Linked DNA regions of Homo sapiens: region 2 is linked to region 1. The links are contacts of gene promoters, found by promoter capture Hi-C in blood cells and fetal thymus (Javierre and others, 2016). All regions are on one chromosome and are shown on one strand. Each heading gives the region's core, a stretch centred on a gene start or on the middle of the fragment in contact. The rest is flanking DNA. Distances are from core to core; before and after follow the strand shown. Region 1 holds the start of PCSK7 (proprotein convertase subtilisin/kexin type 7). Region 2 has its middle 66 kb from the start of LINC02702.

Region 1 (3,308 bases), core at 119-2,618:
GCCTAGCAAAAAACAGTTACCAAAATGCCTCTTGAAAGAGTAGGTAATAACGTCCTAGAAGTCCAGGTGGTAGCTAACTTCTTGATTTGTATATCCCAGAAGGATACCAGGGAAAGTGAAAGGAGGGAGGCGGCGGGGGCGAAACGGGGAAAGCCAGAGAGTGCAAACAAAACAGAACAGGCACCAAGGACAAGCGGGCAACCAGGAGAGAACGAATGATGAGAGAACCTCACTAAGCAGCTACTCCTGTACTGAGCTCAGGAGGCTGGCTTCAAGGTGAGGACTCAGACTCCAGACTGGGACTCCAATTGCCTGGGTTTGACAGAACCAGGGAATTGGTCTCAGGAGCCCTCAAAAAAAAAAAAAAAGAGCCAAGTTAGAACTGGGGGACAGACAAATGGGGTGGCAGGACATGTGTGTACCTATGGTGGCTGGGCTCCTTTAAAAGCCTTTGCTCTCCACTGGGTCCACCCTGGGGCAGGGCTTAGTACTCAGATACACACCCAAGCGGCTCTACCTCAAAGCATTCCAGAAAAATGGGAATTTTACTGAAAGGCTTCCTGGAAAGGAGAACTTATGCCACCTCTCCTTTACCTCTAAAAATCTTCATACTACATTTCTTCCTCTCGTTTTCTCTTAGGTTTCCAGGCATATTCCCTCTCAATCCCTCCCTGCCCCCGGGAGCCTCAATTCTCCCAAGATATTTAGGTGTCTTCCCCAGTCTGCATACTCTACTAAGTAAACAAACTAACAAACAAAACCCTTGTTAGCCAGACAGTGGCCCCGCTAGGCAGACTCCTTCAGACTCAGTAGATCCCACCACAGATGTCAGGAAGAAAGAGAAGCAGGAGCTCCTTCTGTCTACTAGTGGCAAAGCAGCATTTTTATCCCCCAGGCTTCTGGGAAAGGAACCTTAAATGCCTTCTGAAAGCAGGTCTCAACCTCTCCCAACGGCTAGGCCTCCCTTTACAGCTCTTAATTGACAAGGAAGAAGAGAATGGGCAGCCTGGAGTCCAAGATCCTGCTCCCAAGCTACTGTCCTCGCTGTTCCACACCCGGCTCCTAGAAGCCAGCTTGGGTACCGGGTCAGTTTCCCGATTCTCCCTCCGTCGGCCTCGATCGCTCCGTGCAATGTGCCCCTCTCCTCATTAGCACCCACATTATCCAGGAATTCTGGGCCCTGGGGCCCCATCTCCTTGGTCCCCCACGCCAGGACCTCAGGCACCCTCTGTGCAGCTCCCTCATCCTCAGACGCCGGCTTCCCCCACTTCTGGGGCCCCCTGACCACCCAGGTCCAGCCCCACACCTAGTTCCCAACTCACCGGCCCCGCCGCAGCTGCCGCCGCCTCCCTGCGGAAACTCGCGGCTTCCCGGGAGCCGGAGGAGCAGTGACAGCAGCATCACTTCCGCCCGCGGCGCAGCCAATCAGCGCGGCGCCTGCGGCCCGGCGACCCCCGCGGGCCACAGCAACCGGCGCCCGGGGTCCGGCTCCCGCGGGCGGCCTACGCAGGCAGGGGCCGTGCGGGCGCTGGGGGCTGAACCCGCGGGCTCCGCCTCCCCGAGTCCTCGGGGCATCTTCCACATGGTCCCTCTTCAGAAGGCTCTCCTTCATGGCGTCCTCTGTAAAGGGCATTTCGGTTCCGACCTTTAAAAGCCACTCGTTGCTCTTCTCCTTCTGACCGCCATGGCCCCGACTGTCCCTGTAATCTTCCCAGAGGGGATCCTGCCCACCCAGGTCGCCTTCCTTCTCGCAGTCGGCTCTCCCTTCTTCCCCGCGCCCCGGGAGAGTCCACTTGTATCTCAGGGGTCTCCCGCAGCATCCCCGTGCCCCGGCGGCGCCAGCTGTCGCCGCCAGAGGGCGCCGTCGGGGGCGGCGCGGCGCCACCGCGGCCTCTCCTCTCGCGGCCGGAGCCTCGCCCCCTCCGCTCGTGCCGCCGGAAGTGGGAGGTGCCGCGCGCGGGCCGGCGCTCGACCCCTCCCCCCGTGGCTCGGCCGCCCCCTCCCCCCGCTCCGCCCGCTCAGGTGCGTCCCGTCCCTCCCCCACTTTCCTCCCGGGGGCGCGGCGCGGGAGGTGTGTGCGGGGCGAGCGTGGGTGGGGGTTGCGGGGCGAGGGCCGGGCATGGGGGTCGGGTGGGGGGCGTGGAGGGTGCTGTGAGAACCGAGGCGGGGGTCCCGGCCTAGAAGTGGGACGGGGGGGTGGCTGGCAGCGGGGTGGGGGGACCGAGGGGAAGGGGTGGAGGGGGGTCTGGTCCGAGCCAGCGGCCAGCCTAGCAGTCCCCTGTGGGGGGTGGCCAAGGCCACCCAGCGCCGCTTCCCCCCATTGTCCCCTTCCCGTCTGTCCCCTGTTCTCGCCCGAGGACCCGTGGCTCCGGCGCCCCTGCTTCGCTGGTGGTCGCCCCGGGTTGCGGAGTTCTTTTTGGTACACTCGACCCTCCAGCCAGCTGTTCCTACCCGCGCCACGGGCTCTCTAGCCACGGAGTTGCATGCATGGCCCTTGTCCTGGGGTTTCGTTCACCGGGCGCAGAGGACCCCCCAGCCCTGGGCTATGTTGGAGACGGGATGTTTGCACCTGAGGGAGCAGCAATGGCGGTTTGGGCCCATTTTCTCCCAGGAGCTTTGTATAATGAGGGAAACTGAGGCACAGAGGGTCTGTGGGCTGTGACTGAGGTGTTGACACAGCCCCATCTACCTATCTGCCCTATGCGCTCTTCAGTGTTCCGGGGGGGAATACGTGTGATGCTGTTAAAATAAAAGCAAGAATGCAAACTAACCCGATGTTCATCCCCACCTCCCAAGTATTTTGATTTTCTTTTCTCCTCATAAGGTCATAAGTTTGCTCTGCGGCATAAAAGATGACCTTTTGATTTTTAAAAAAGGCGTCCGTCCCAGTTCCCTTACTTGTGTTACCATGTTTTTTACCTTGACTTTTTCACGCTAGAGAACCCAGGATTCTTTTTTGCACCACTAGTCACTCTGAAGAGTCTGTTCTTTGCTCAGTTAGTGGGTATCAGGCCTTTCCCATCTGTGGGGAGCACGCTGACAGTAAAATATGCACCCTGGATTGCCCAGTATTGCATTACTTGTTGACTTACAGGCAGACACCTCCAAAAACTTCCCTTAAATTAATGGAGAATGCTTTGAATGTAACAGCCATAAAGTGATTTAAAAACATGAGATCTGATTGATACTAGGCCGAAAAGTACGTCTTTTATTAAAAATGATAGCAGACAAGGTAGGCCTGGGACCACTTGGAAGATCCTGGCAGACTAAGATGTATTGTTTGAAATGACTACATTTCTGCCAAAAGT
Region 2 (3,444 bases), core at 681-3,180, 530 kb before region 1:
CAGGAGCGTGTGAGGAGAAGCAGGCTCAGAGGGTCCCCCAGGCCCCTCTTCCCTTCCCCCACAGCCAGCTTTCACCACGGTGGCTTTGGCCCACAGCTGCCCTAGCCCAGGGACCCGATGGCAGGCAGAAGCAGACCTACTTTGGTTTCCATGGTAACCGCGGGAGTGCGCCGCAGCCAACAAGGCAGCTGGTTTGAAGGGTGTTGATCTCTCTGCAGACCAGCAAGGCAGAACCACTAGGGACCAGAGGTGGCAACCGAGCCAGAAGGAGCCACAGGAGCTGGGTATGCAAAGTTCACGGGGACCTGTCTGAAGAGCCCAACCGCTCTTCCCCAACCCTCTGCCACCCATCCACCCAAACAGAGGCACTCGCTGAGCAGAGCACATCCAGGCTCCACTGTGAACACAACTCAGACCCGCATTCACACCAAATACATCCCAGCTTCACATCTGTGGACCCATTTTCACCAAGGAGACACATGAAAGTGGCACAGCCATAACACAAAGGAGGGGAATGATTCACACAAAAGTTAGGAGAGTGGTTAACTCAGGGGCAATGAAGGAAGGGTCATAGTTGGGGGTTGGGGTGGCACAGGGAGCTTCCAAGGCACTAACAACATTCGATGACAAAAATACAGACCCCTGGGGCTGGGTGCGGTGGCTCATGCCTGTAATCCCAGCAATTTGGGAGGCAGAGGTGGGGGCATCACTTGAGGTCAGGAGTTCCAGACCAGCCTGGCCAACATAGTGAAACCCCGTCTCTACTAAAATTACAAAAATTATCTGGGCGTGATGGCTTGAGCCTGTACTCCCAGCTACTCGAGAGGCTGAGGCAGTAGAATTGCTTGAACCTGAGAGGTGGAGGTTGCAGTGAGCCGAGATCGCGCCATGGCACTCCAGCCTGGGCAACAGAGCCAGACTCTGTCTCAAAAAAAAAAAAAAAAAAAAAAGACTCCTGCATATAAATGCTTATTCACACATAGTATATAAGATTGACACCCAGAAAGATCCACATTCACCCCAATCACCTTATCTATACGCACCCCCCTACTGTACAGACACTGCTCAGGTGGGGCATGTACTCCATTCACCGCATGCATGCACAGACCCATATCTCCCTGACACACCTATGCCCACCTGTGTACTCACAGGGACACCCCCAGACACATACCCAAAATGCAGATCACAACCTCCAAATGTTACAACTCAGAAGCTGAGGAGCCCAAGCTTTCTGAAACGACTCAAAAACAAGATTGTGCTTCCATTCAGTGCTGGAACCAAATCACTAAACCCTAACAAAGACCCCCCAGGCTTGTTGCCTCGTAAACCAGGCCCATCATGGAGGGAGGCCTTTCTTCTTCTCTGTTTATTTACTCAGAGCAGTTTTTTCTATCCTCCATAAATGCCAAAAGGACAAAAATGTGTCACTCAGACTTGAAATAAAAACGCTTATGATAGCCTTACAGAGACACACACTCCTCTTTAAGACGCCCATGTGTGGTGCCCACCATGAGCATGCCCCACGAGGTGCGCCACCCACCACCCCACAAGACAAGGACAAGATGCCTTCTGGGTACTGCTCTAGGAAGGCAGGAAATGTTGTAAGAAGCACGGAGTATCTTGCTAGGCCGGGGGTCAGCTCCTGACCTGGCCGGGACACCTCACAGCCATAGACTCCATCCACATAGGCCCTTGAGAACAGGAGGTCACAGAGACACTTGTGGAGGACATTTGGTTGAGAATCTCTTGAAGCACATTTGAAGATTCGTGGCATTATTTTCAATATTGTCTTAATAATCACTTTTTTTTTTTTTTGAGACGGAGTCTCGCTCTTGTCACCCAGGCTGGAGTGCAGTGGCGCAATCTCGGCTCATTGCAACCTCCATCTCTCCAGCTCAAGTGATTCTCCTGCCTCAGCCTCCCGAGTAGCTGGGATTACAGGCACCCACCACCATGCCCAGCTCATTTTTGCATTTTTAGTAGAGAAGGGGTTTCACCACACTAGCCAGGCTGGTCTCGAACTCCTGACCTCAGGTGATCTGCCCACCTCCGCCTCCCAAAGTGCTGGGATTACAGGCATGAGCCACTGTGCCCAGCCGATCACTTCTTAATGTGCAGAAATTGAAAGGTGTATGTAGCATGTACACATGTCTGTATGCTTATTATAATAATGACCATATTTATTGGGCACAAAAGGTCAATACATGTTAGCTATTGTTATTATTGTAATTTTACATGGTTAATGAAAATAATGTAGAAGTAGGGGGTTGTTAAGATGAGCTTCCTTTATTTCCTAGGGTTTTGATTCAATAAACTCTTTTCAGTTTTAGCAGTAGCAATATTGCATTGTGCTGTATTTTACAAAACAATTTCACGTACACTATCTCCTTTCAATCCTGGAGCAGCTCCTGGGTGAGGGAATGATGCTGGGGGAGGGAGCAGGTCATAGATGAGTAAGACCCAGACCCAGGCCTTCGAGAGCTCACAAGCTAGTGAGGAAGGGTTCCAGGAGCAGCTTTGAAACCATACCACGAGGCCTCAGGTTGTCACAAAGGACCTGCCAAAGGCAGTGAAGCACAGGAAAGGGAGTCATTCGTTGCTCGGGAAGAATCAGGAAGGGCTGGATAATCAAAGAAAGCTTCACGGAAGAAGTCCCACTGGAGCCAGGCCTAGAAGCATAAGTAGATTGAGGCAAGCCAAGTTCTGGGCTGGAAAAGGGCACTGAGGTCCCAGGCACAGCTGCAGAACAGAAGTTGGTGGGCCTAGGTAGCCTGACTTGAGGGGCTGGGGCAGGAGCAGGGGGAAATAAAGCTGTGAAGGTAGACTGAGGCGGGATTCGGAAAGGCCTTGCACCAGAGGCCAAAGCATCTGGCCCCAGCAAATGACCAAGTGTTTGAAACAGCCAGTCTTGTGCTCCAGAGAAACACCTCACATACCCTAAGGTTAGTGGGGATTTAACCCGAGCATAAACCAGTAGGATTAAATCATGACATACACACAGAGAACACCTTTTTTTTTAAACTAGATTCTTTGATCCCATAGAACTACCCAACTCTTCTTGTCCCTACCATGACTTGTGGGTATCTGACCCTACTGTTCATGGAATTTTAGATTTTCCTGCTTGAAAGGGAAGGGACGGCCAGGCGCAGTGGCTCATGACTATAATCCCAGCACTTTGGGAGGCCGAGGCAGGTAGTTCACCTAAGGTCAGGAGTTCCAGACCAGCCTGGCCAACATAGTGAAACCCCATCTCTACTAATAATACAAAAAATTAGTCAGGCATGGTGGCAGGCACCCGAAATCCCAGCTACTTGGGAGGCTGAGGCAGGGGAATCGCTTGAACCCGGGAGGCGGAGGTTGCAGTGAGCCGAGATTGCGCCACTGCACTCCAGCCTGGGCAACAAAAGCGAAACTCCGTCTCAAAAAAAAAAAGAAGAAAGAAAA

Evidence for each region. Contacts are between HindIII fragments. The CHiCAGO score rates a contact against its expected background, and 5 or more counts as called.
Region 2: a contact is called between a fragment that was not itself captured here and the fragment with the promoter of PCSK7 in region 1, in 1 of 17 cell types (fetal thymus). The highest score is 5.9, in fetal thymus.

What each region holds. Positions count from the first base shown.
Region 1 is chr11:117,230,705-117,234,012 of GRCh38, forward strand. It overlaps PCSK7 (proprotein convertase subtilisin/kexin type 7), which reads right to left and starts at 1,369. Exons shown (of 17, transcript NM_004716.4): 1 at 1,323-1,369. It overlaps RNF214 (ring finger protein 214), which reads left to right and starts at 1,967. Exons shown (of 15, transcript NM_207343.4): 1 at 1,967-2,022. RefSeq lists enhancers at 58-297, 1,167-1,216 and silencers at 1,407-1,556, 1,767-2,106. The HindIII fragment of the contact is 17,537 bases long and covers 1-3,308 here.
Region 2 is chr11:116,703,448-116,706,891 of GRCh38, forward strand. No RefSeq gene overlaps it. Among named protein-coding and RNA genes, the nearest start is that of LINC02702, 66 kb to the left of the region's middle. The HindIII fragment of the contact is 1,411 bases long and covers 1,226-2,636 here.